4 separate regions of the Homo sapiens genome follow, and all the other regions are linked to region 1. Evidence: promoter capture Hi-C in human tissues and cell types (Jung and others, 2019). All regions are on one chromosome and are shown on one strand. Each heading gives the region's core, a stretch centred on a gene start or on the middle of the fragment in contact. The rest is flanking DNA. Distances are from core to core; before and after follow the strand shown. Region 1 holds the start of OR6B2 (olfactory receptor family 6 subfamily B member 2). Region 2 has its middle 76 kb from the start of GPC1. Region 3 has its middle 100 kb from the start of GPC1. Region 4 has its middle 14 kb from the start of GPC1.

Region 1 (2,700 bases), core at 57-2,556:
GTGAATGAAAGAAGCTGAACATAACAGGGCACATACTTTATGTGTAAGCCCCTCAGAAACACCAATGCTAGCATCTGGTTTTGGAAGTCAGGACAGTGCTTTTTGTGGAGAAGGGTTAATGACTGGGAGAGGGCGTGAAGGCAGCTTCTAGTTCTTGATCTGGGAGCTGGTTCCATGAGCACAGTCCTTTTGTGAAAACATATGCAGACGAAGGCTTGTTACTTGTGCACAGTTGTGTAGGTTTGTTAAATTTCACTTAGTTCTGTAGGTTTGTTAAATTTAACTTAAAAATTAATTTAAAGAGCACAAAGTGCCACATACAATGTTGTTTCATCACTACAGATTTTACTCTAGGACATTTAGTTGTCTTAGTGTGAAGTTTGACCCAAGCCCAAGGCCTTTTTCAAGGCGTCCTTAAATTCCTTGTTCCTCAGGCAGTAAATCAAAGGGTTAATTATTGGCGTGACAACAGTGTACACGGCAGAGATGAGCTTGTTGGAGCTCTGGGAATCAATGGCTTGGGGCCGGACATACATGAAAAGCAAGGCTGTATAGAAGACGGTGACCACGGTGAGGTGAGAGGCGCAGGTAGAGAAGGCTCTCCAGCAGCCGGTGGCCGAGGGGATGCGCAGGACAGCCAGGGTGATGTGCCAATATGACAGTATGGTGGCCAGGAGCGGAAACACCAGGATGATGAAGGCCAGGATGAAATCCACCAGCTCTGCAGTGGAGAAGTCCGTGCAGGCCAGCTTGAGGATGGGGGAAATGTCACAGAAGAAGTGGTTCAAGACGTTGGAGCCACAGAACGTGACGCTGGAGATAAAACAGACCTTGATCATGGAGATGGTGAAGCCACTCACAAAGGAGAAGCCCACCAGCTGGAGGCACAGCCCCGGGGTCACAAGGACGTGGTAGCGCAGCGGGTGGCAGATGGCCACGTAGCGGTCGTAGGCCATGGAGGCCAGAAGCACACACTCGGTGCACACCAGGGAGCTGAAGAAGTAGAGCTGCGTCATGCACCCGACGAAAGAGATGCGTTTCTGCTGGAGGAGGAAGCCCTCCAGCATCTTGGGGGTGATGTCAGACACGTACCAGATCTCCAGGAAAGACATGGAGCTCAGAAAGTAGTACATGGGCCTGTGGAGGGAGGTGCTGCTCCAGACGATGAGGATGATGGCCAGGTTCTCCACCAGGACAAAGAGGTAGGTGAGCAGGAAGAGGAGGAAGAGCAGGTACTGCAGCCCTGGGGCCGTGGGGAGGCCCACCAGGATGAAGGTGCTGACCTTGGTGACATTCTCCCCACTCATGCCTCTGTGCTTGGGAGCTGCAGGCCTACAAAACATCAAAGAGCAAGAGGAAAGGGCTGCAGGGCAGCTGAGGCAGAGAGAGAGTGGAGCTGGACTTGGATGGGGAGTTTTGGTGCAAAGAGAGGCCACGTGGCTCCCCAGAGCACCAGGAGAGAGCAGTGATCTGCTGATCTTCTGAGTTTTAAAGTAGAAAACTTCTGTGTGCTTGCATTTACATATAACCATGAAGTAGGAATGAGGAAGAGAGTATATGCTGAGGAACAGAGCCGGGCAGCTCCAGGGTGGGCAAAACCCAAAGCTCTGAGTCCAGGGGCACTACCAGTCCACACGTGCCTGGGGCAGCTCTCAAGATCCAAGTGGGCATGGACACAGAGCTGGCCCTCCTTAGGGTCCTTCATCTGAGGGTTCCTGCAAGTCGGGGCAGCAGCCTCGGCATGAGGTGAGGGGCTATCAGCCTACCAGGGCAGAACCCCAAACTGGGCTAACCAGCCGGAGGAATGCAGGGAGGGCTCCCAGGAAAGGGCTGCCTGGCTCTGGGGGACCTGGTCCACAGGTGGGGGAGAGAGAGGGTAGCCACAGCCCCTTGCCCCACAGGGCATCTGGTGGTTCTTTTCATTGGCAGTCTAGGTGGGTTGAATGGCAGACTTCCACCAGCTCACAGCTGGGGAGGGTGACCCCAGGTTTCTGGCCCAGGATGCTAAAAATTGATGAGAAGACTAGGAGAGGGCCAGGTGGGTGCCGAATAATCTGGAGTCTGTGCTGGGGAGGCGTGGTGCGCGGCACTTACTGGAGAGCCTCATGGTGACGTGTAGGGGGTTGGCTAGACAAGTCGAGTTCATGGAAGAGTTGCAGGCTGAAAAACAAACTTCTAGAAGGGAATTGCCCAGGGACAGGTTTACACTTGGAAACGCACCTGTACTCCTGCCGTCTAGGGTGAGCATTCTGTGGGAACCCAAGATCATCCACTGGGGCGGCATGGCCATTCCCTGCCTTAAAATGCCAGCGTGCAGTTCAGAGTTTAGGATCAATTTCACAAGCATTTACTACTCACTCCAGTCACCGCCTACTGTCTCCCCAAAACAAAAGCAATAAGAACCCCTGCCATTAAAGGGGTCTCAAGATGTGAGTCTGAATGTAGCCTCTCTAGACACCATCCAGGGTGGTGACTGTGTCCTCTTCCCAGCTGAGTGGCCACAGGGGGCTTTAAAGTCCACAAGGAGGAAAGTTGGGGTCCACAGGAGCTCCTTGGAAGGCCAGCAGCCCCCACCTGTTGACTGGGTTTGCTGGGGAGAGCTGGCGGTGGGGGTAGTGAGCTTTGGTTCTTGTGCTTTTAACCCAGAACAGTAGAGGCACCTATAGATTTCTCTTGATTATTTGGATAGTGGTAACTGAT
Region 2 (2,700 bases), core at 170-2,669, 330 kb after region 1:
CAACCTGAGATTAAAGCCATATTCGAACACCATGCCAGCCTGGTGGCCGTAGCCTCTGCCCTCTGACCCCTGTCTCCTGGGTATTGTGGTGCTGCTCCCTCTCCCCTCTCCGAGTGGCCCCTCTCTGCCAGCTGTGTGCAGCTTCTCCAGCGCCCCAGGGGCCAGGCCCAGGCAGGGAACACACCTGCTGCTTCATGAAGCATGGAGGACATGGGGAACCAGCATGGGGCTGGACCCTGCAGGGGCTTCAAGGTCCTGAATTGCCAGCCAGCTCCCACAGGCTCACAAAGGGGCCGGCACTGATAAGCACCTAGGGGAGGAGCTGGCGGAGAGGTGGGCTGGGCCCCTCAGCAGGGCTGGCTTCACCCCCACAGAGCTCCCACGAGGATCCCTCGCCATCCCCTCCTCACCAGGCTCCAGCCCTGCCTAGACGGAGCCTCCCTGTCCCTCCCTAGTCCTGAACACCCTTACCCACTTCTTCAGCTCCGGATAACTCAGCAGCCAACGTCTCTAGGAAGCCCTTCTAAGCCTCCCAAGGAGGGCCGGGGTCATCTGGGGCTGGCGCAGGAGAACGGAGACGGGACTGGACCGGGTTTGGGCAGGGTGAGGAGGAGCTGGAGGAGAGGGCCACAGGTGGTCCTGGGGTCCTCTGGGGTGGTGGCTGGTTGGATCGATTTGAGCTGTGGGGACCTCACATTAGGCATTAGGGAAAGAGAAATGCGTGTGATCTGGGCAATGACCCCCGACCCCTCGGGAAGGTTCCAGGCAGCTGCTGCTCTCCTGAGACTCCACTGACGCAGCTCAGCCTCTTCACTCCCTACTCAGCTCACCCTCAGAAGCCTCCGCTGCCTGCTGGGCATGCAGACCCCTCCTCAGCCCCTCCGGGACCCTCCCCACACCACACCCTGAGTAGGATGGGGTCGTGAACGGCCCCAGCACCAGGAGCGACCCACACCCCTGCAGAGTCCAGCAGCCACTCGGCCGCCTCTTCCTGGTTCTCTTGGTGGTGCACCCAGTAGGAGGGTGAGAGGGTGGGGGTTTGGCTGACAGATTCATGAGCGACAAGGGGATCACCTGAAGTACACCCCACCCACTGCATGCCGCCCTCATGCCACCAGGCCCAGACAAGCCCAGGGACACTCCTGCTCCTCACCCTCAAGGGAGAGGCTCTCCCCCTGGCCCTGAGCAGGGGTGGCGCCCAGATCCTGGCACCCAAGAGTTCTTTGGTTCCCCCAATGGAGGGATGCTTCCTCAGGCAGGGCTGACGCCCTTGGATAGGGCTGACCCCTTAGGGTGGAGCTGAACCCCTAGGGCAGGGCTGAGCCTCCTTGAGCAGCGATGAACCCCTAGGGTAGGGCTGACTCCCTTGGATTGGTTGATGGGCCTCAGTGCCTGCTCTCCCCTCAAACCAACCCCCACCCATCTTTCTCTCATTACCAAATCCAAGGGTGGGGTGGGGCAGGGAGAGCCCTAGGCTCAAGACAGTGGGTCTCAGGGGACTGAGGATCAGAAACAGAGAAATTCACACCCACCAGCCACCTGCCCTCCCCTCCGGGCCTGGCACAAGGGACAGGGACGTGGGTCCCTGGCGGGACAAGGAGGTGTCCCCTGCCCTCCCCTCTGGGCCTGGCAGAGGGGACAGTGAGGTGGGTCCCTGATGGGACAAGGAGGTGTCCCTGCCCTCCCCTCTGGGCCTGGCAGAGGGGACAGGGACGTGGGTCCCTGGTGGGACAAGGAGGTGTCCACCTGCTCTCTCCTCTGGGCCTGGCACAGGGGAACAGGGATGTGGGCCCCTGATGCAACAAGGAGGAGTCCTGGAGTGGCCAGGGCCACACTCCCTGTTTGGGGGTCCTGCAGTGAAGTGGGTTCCAGGGCAGTGCTGCCCCTGCCTTTGACACACTCCAGGCTGTCCCAGGAGCCTGGGTGCCCTTGAGACCTGGTATGAAGGGTCCCATGGAGAGCCCTGGATCTGTCACACAGGACAAGCGGGAGCCCAATCAGAGGCTGGGAGCACCCCTCCAGGAGAAGGCTTGGGCAGGGGTCTTCGGCATCTGCTGAGGGCCCTGAGTGTTCACAGGCTTCTCAACCACACAAGGAGCAGAGGGATGGGGCTGCTCATTCTTTTACATTCTGATTAGAAAGCACGTAGTAGCCCACAGAGTGGCTGATGAAATGCTGGTTCCCCCTTAAACACGTATTGATTTCTGAAACTGTATGTGAGGTCCAGGGACCTAGGCCAAGGGTATCTAAAAGGGGCAGTGAACCACTTCATGCTACTTAGAGATGAATCCTCTCTAGATAGCATGAGGCAGCATCAGGAGGAGCTGGCATCCTCCACCACCCCACTTTGGACAGATTTTTCTAAGCCACCAGAACTTGAGACTAAAGACCTAGGCTCAAACCCTCAAAGGAAAGATCTCAATCTCTTTACAGTATCTCAGGGATGAGGAGAGGACCCAGCAGGCTCTCAGTCAAACCCCAGAGAGACATGCTTAAGAAACAGGGAAGGACAGAGGCAGACTGAGTCTCATCAAAGACACCACTTGACTGGGACTCAGCTCCATTCCCAGCTAGGTTTATATGATAATCCTCTCACCCTATTCCCCTCACAGGAAAACACAAAAGATGATGCCATCTAGAGTCTCTATAATTCCTTTATACAGAGAGTTTGGCATAAAGGAGGTAAAGAAGCAGGAAAAT
Region 3 (2,700 bases), core at 77-2,576, 300 kb after region 1:
AGCCAGGCCAGGAGAGGACAAAGGGTCCCTTCTGCTGGAGGGAACGTCCCCTAGGGCACACGGGTGTGGGCAGCTTAGGCTGGGGCTTCTCAGGGCAGGGGCCGCAGAGGGTGGAGGAGGGGCTGGCAGCTGGGGCAGCAGCCCCTGGCCCTGGAGCCAACACATGCAGGCCTCTTCCCAACCCTGTGTTCACCGACCTCACAGGAGATTCCAGTGGGGATAGCAGGATAGATCGTGGAGACTGGAGTACACTAAAATTCCCGCAGCTGCTGCTGTTGCTGTTTCAGGGGCCTGGTTTACAGCACGGCACGGGCAGCAGGCCCAGCCTTGGGCATGGGTAGTACCCTGAGAGCCTGGGGCAGGGACCAATATGGGCTTTAAAGAAGTCAGGGATTCTTGAGGAGGACTTAGTGATGGTTCTCCCAGACCAGCACCAGGGAGGCCAGATGGGGTCAGCATCAAGAGCCCGGCAAAGTCATGGGAGCGTGAACCTAGGCAGGGGAACACTGACAGTGGCCAAGGCCAGGTGGCACCTGCCAGGCAGCCCCCAATATGGCCCCGTGTCTGTCTTCACAGCAACCTGAGAGAAGCATGTCATCCTCGCCTGCAGCTCACAGCTGAGGAGCTGAGATGCGGGAGGGTCAGCAGCCTGCCCAGGGGAGCACACTCAAATATGGCACAGGTGGTCAGCAAGCCATCCAGGGAAAGCTTCTAAAAGCTCTCAGAGAGGATAAAGAGGCCACTCAACAAGAACAAAAACCGGAGTGGCATCAAATGGCTCAGCAGCAACCCTGGACCCAAGAAGACACTGGAATAACACCTGCCAGGTGTGAGTGATTTTCCTGCAGAAAATCGTTTTGAACCTAGAATTCTAACCCAGCCAAACAACAGACATCTCACATGTAGCATCAATAATCCATTCCCCCAAATCAGCCATTCTGCATGAAAATGCTACCTGGGAACCTACTTTCTATTATTTTAAAAGGAATAATTATACTGTATTATATATCAATCTTACTGCCCCCCCTACTTTTCCAAAATGAGATAAAACATGATGGAACCTCTGTATATTAGTAACGAATCATGTTTGAGTATAAAATATAGACAGCCCATCCTAGTCATGAACAATCAGCCTGGCTGTGCACGCATGGCTGCTGTATGGACTGGGATGCTTCTGAACCAGCTGTCTCCAAGTCCCACACCCTTTGCTAATGTGCTGGCATTCTACCTGTTGTATGTGGAATGTAATTCAATCGTTTTACTTAAAATTGCAAATTGCATTTTGAGAATAGTGATGTAACTTTTTCCTGTACACACAAACATCCACTGAAAAACTGATATATTTCAAGACATAAGTTCTACCAACTTGTGATTAAAATCCAAGAGATAGTCACCAGGAAAGCATTAGCCAGGGAGATATCTAGGGGGCATGCCCTACATAGCTAGCAATCAATCAATCAATCAATGAGTAAGGGAAAGTAAATAAAGAATGAAGACATGTTCAGATACACAAAGTCTCAGAGTGTGTTCTTCCCAGGTACTGTTTGAATAAGAAATCATGTGATGATGTAAATATATTAATACATAATTTTTATATTATATCAAAATACAAATATGTAAAAGTTATGCTATATATAAAGCAGCATTTATATAAATTACATCAATAAAGGAAGAACACATTGTTATGTGATTTCTTATTCATCTTTTCTTCTTTCTTTATTGATATAATTTATAGAATGCTATAAAATTCTCTATTTTAAAGTGTGCAGTTCAGTAGCTATTTATGAGATTGTACAATCGTCACCACTAACTCCAGAACATTTTCATCACCCTAAAACAAAATTCCACATCAACAGGTGCTCCCCATGCCTCCTCCCCACCCATCCCCTGACAAACACTAACCTATTTTCTGTCTCTATAGATTTGCCTATGCTGGATATTTCAAATAAATGGAATCATAAAATCTGTGGCCCTTTGTGTCTGGCTTCTTTGACTTAGCATAATTTTTTGGGGGGCTCGTCCGTGTTGTAGCATGATTCAGTGCTTCATTCCTTTCTCTGTTCATCTGCTGGTGGACATTTGGGTTGTTTTCCCTTCGTGGCTCTTAAGAGTAATGCTACTAGAAACATTTGCGTACAAGCTTTTATGTGGACATATGTCTTCAGTTCTCTCTGGTATATTCCTAAGAAAGAAATTGCTGGGTTATATGGTAGTTCCATGTCTGAGGTTTTTAGGAACTACCAGACTGTTTTCCAAAGTGGCTGCACCGTGTTGCATTCCCAGCAGCAATGGATGAGGGTTCCCATTTCTCCACATCTTTGCACCAACAGTTGTTTTCCTTCTTCAATTATAGCCTGCCATTAATTTGCATTTCCCTAATGACTAATGACATTGAACATCTTTTCATGTGCTTATTGGCCATTCATATGTCTTCCTTGGAGAAATGTCTATTCAAATCCTTTGTCCAGTCTTTAATCGGCTTCTGTGTCTTTTTCTTATAGAATTATGAGAGTTCTTTCAATATTCTGGAGACTAGGTCCTTAAGAGACATATGATTGCAAATATTTTCTCTTACTATAGGTTGTCTTTTCACTTTTTCAATAGTGTCCTTTAGCATACAGAAGTTTTTAATCATAATGAAGCCTAATTTACGTATTTTTCCTTGATCGCTTGTGCTAAGGATGTGTTCTTGAAAAATGA
Region 4 (2,700 bases), core at 12-2,511, 390 kb after region 1:
AGAGCCATAGCCAGGCCAAGCCCCAGCTGGTGGCAGAGGAGCCGGGCAGCCTGCAAGGGGCTCCTGGTCCCAAGGAAGCTTGATGGGGGGGCCATGGACTGAACCCTGCCCCCACCCCACAAGTCCGTTTCAGAGACTGCACACTGCTCAGGCACCCAGAAGACCCTTTCCTGACCCCCTCAGTGGGCCAGGGGCAGACATAGGCAAGCAGACACCACCCACAGTGCCCGAAGGCTCAGCACCCTTGGCACACATTGGGAGGGTCTGGTCCACTTCAGAGTGGGGGGCTGGGGGCATGGAGAAGACCTAGAAAGGCACGGCTGATACTTTGGCCCGAGGCTTGCCTTATGGGAGTACCCGGGAGAATGGGAGGGCTGAGGGATGAAGAATGGAAGGACGACCTCCTGGGCAAGCAAACGGCCCCAAAACCAGAGTTGTGGGCAAGTCCTAGGCTGTGGGACCCCAGAGGGACCGGGAATCTGGTCTGGGCCCTCAGGATAGGCAGGCAGGGTCCTGGGGCTGCTGCCCACTATCCTATCCCCTCAGCACAAATGGCCTGGCTCCTCCGGTTCCTCTGGTGTGCGTGCCCCGACATTAGGGGCTTCCTCGGCCCACAGGGAAGGACAGTCAGGTCCTCACAGGGCCCCACGCCCTCTGCAGATGGGAACCACCCCCACAGTAGCCACTCAGCCACATGCCCATGTGGAATGACAAGGCCATCAATCCTGTTCCCCAGGGCTGGAAGCCACGTGTTGACAATTTTGAGCAGTGGGTTTAGCTCGGTTTCGGAAAGGATAAGAAAATTAGAGGATGGGTGTCTTTGCTTCCAAGAGTGTCCCATTCTGCGGATCTGCCCAGGAACACAGCAGTGGTGCCAGAGGCCTGCCAGGGACACTAGGCCCACAAAAGGCCCAAACTAGCATCCAGGCCTCATGTGAGGTGGCAGCCTCCACCCCAAAACCCCCAGCCCTCAGGCAGCACTCACTTGTGCATTTCCAGCTCAATCTTCCAAATTACCAACTTTAAAGAGATATTGCAGGAGGAACACCCAGGACCCTGGAAGGCAGCTGCTGGGCCTGGATGCAGAGAGTGGTGATTCCTCCCAACTGGGATGCACAAGACCAGGATGCCCCAGGGTCAGGGAGGAAGCCAGCTTTACAAGTATGCTTTTCATGACATAACTCACGGGTGTGGGTGCCTTCTCCCCAAGCAGATGAAGGGTGTAGAATCCCATCAGAAGCACCCCTGTCCATTTCCAGGTCCCCCTGGACAGGTGTGGCCAGCAGGCAGGAAGGCACAGTCAGCAAGCACAAGCAACACTGATGCGGGGACACTGAGCAGGCTACAAGGATCCCAGAGGGGGGATGGAGCAGGCCCTGGCTCCCCAGGGCCCATGCCAGGCCATGGGACATGCAGCCCCAGGAGAAGCTGGCCAGGGCAACCCAGGCCTGACAAGTGTCCTCGTGCCACACAGGCCAGGAAAGCCACTGCTCACGCCTCATCAGAACAGCAGCCAGTGCAAGGCAGAGACAGCATCACCTGTGCTCTGGCCTTGCTGCCACAGGAGTGCTCTGAGCCCAAGGAGACCCCCACAGCAGGAGAGCCCTGCAAGACCATGGAAACAGACAGGGCTTAGGGCCCAGCCTCAACAAATCACATCCAGGATGGCATTGCAAATGCTTCCATTGCAGGTAGGGTTTAGTCCTGGAATGCAAGGATGGGTTAATAGCAGTAATTCTAGATGCATAACTCACTACACCAAGAACTGAGTTGAGGAAAATGATACGATCATGGAAACAGATGTTGAAAAAATTCCATATCCTTCCCTACTAGGACTTTAAAAAGAAACCTTGTAGCAAGGAAAGAATAGGAAACAACTTCCCCAACTTGATAACAGTTTGTTCTAGAAGCCTTTAGTCAATATTGTAATTAATGATAAAACTTTCAAAGCATTAGTCTTAAGGTCAGGAGAAAACATGAGTGTTTTCATCATTACCAATTTTATCTTTACTATTATACTAGAGATCCTAATAAGGATAGTAATGCATTTATTAAAAAAAGAAATGAAAGGCATAAATACCTGGAAATTAAAAGATTAAGTCATCACTACTTTCAGATGCTATGATTGTCTACCTAGAAATCAGAAGGCAGCCAACTGAAAAAGTATTAGAAGTAAGGAAACAATTTAGCAAAGCTGTGACTTGAAAGATCAATGGAGCCAATGACTTCCCTAAACACAGCAATTACCAATGAAAACGTATGCTCAGAAATACTGCTCACAATAGACAAAGCCTTAAAACAACTAAGAATAAACCCCAAAATATAAAAAGGGCTAGATGATGAAAAACGTGAGACTTTACTGCAAAGCAATTTTTTAAATTGAATAAAGGGAGAATTTGAAATACCTAGAATACCTGGATGTCTGAGAAAATATCAATTCTCCCAGAACTAATCTATGAGCTCCAGACAATTCTCATCCATTATTTATGGATCTTGACGGATGAATCCAATGTTCATCTGGGGGAGACACTGGAAAGAATAGCAAGAAATTTTGAATAAGAAGAAATGTACATCCTACAAAACTACATTATTCAAAACAGTGTGGCCTTAGCCCAGCAATATGCAAAAAAGATCCAGGGTGAGTCTAGAAACAGGCCAGTGTATGCTGGAATGAGTATTTACTGGCATTTCACATAAGTG

Evidence for each region. The method cuts DNA at HindIII sites, captures the fragments that hold promoters and counts their contacts. A contact is called where the count stands out against the background at its distance.
Region 2: a fragment that was not itself captured here is called in contact with the fragment with the promoter of OR6B2 in region 1 in 1 of the 25 tissues and cell types used here (mesendoderm cells).
Region 3: a fragment that was not itself captured here is called in contact with the fragment with the promoter of OR6B2 in region 1 in 1 of the 25 tissues and cell types used here (dorsolateral prefrontal cortex).
Region 4: a fragment that was not itself captured here is called in contact with the fragment with the promoter of OR6B2 in region 1 in 1 of the 25 tissues and cell types used here (dorsolateral prefrontal cortex).

Annotation. Positions count from the first base shown.
Region 1 is chr2:240,029,123-240,031,822 of GRCh38, forward strand. It overlaps OR6B2 (olfactory receptor family 6 subfamily B member 2), which reads right to left and starts at 1,307. Exons shown (of 1, transcript NM_001005853.1): 1 at 369-1,307. The coding sequence starts at 1,307. The coding sequence ends at 369. The HindIII fragment of the contact is 5,539 bases long and covers 384-2,700 here.
Region 2 is chr2:240,358,032-240,360,731 of GRCh38, forward strand. No RefSeq gene overlaps it. Among named protein-coding and RNA genes, the nearest start is that of GPC1, 76 kb to the right of the region's middle. The HindIII fragment of the contact is 9,023 bases long and covers 1-2,700 here.
Region 3 is chr2:240,329,412-240,332,111 of GRCh38, forward strand. No RefSeq gene overlaps it. Among named protein-coding and RNA genes, the nearest start is that of GPC1, 100 kb to the right of the region's middle. The HindIII fragment of the contact is 5,119 bases long and covers 1-2,700 here.
Region 4 is chr2:240,420,164-240,422,863 of GRCh38, forward strand. No RefSeq gene overlaps it. Among named protein-coding and RNA genes, the nearest start is that of GPC1, 14 kb to the right of the region's middle. The HindIII fragment of the contact is 4,483 bases long and covers 1-2,700 here.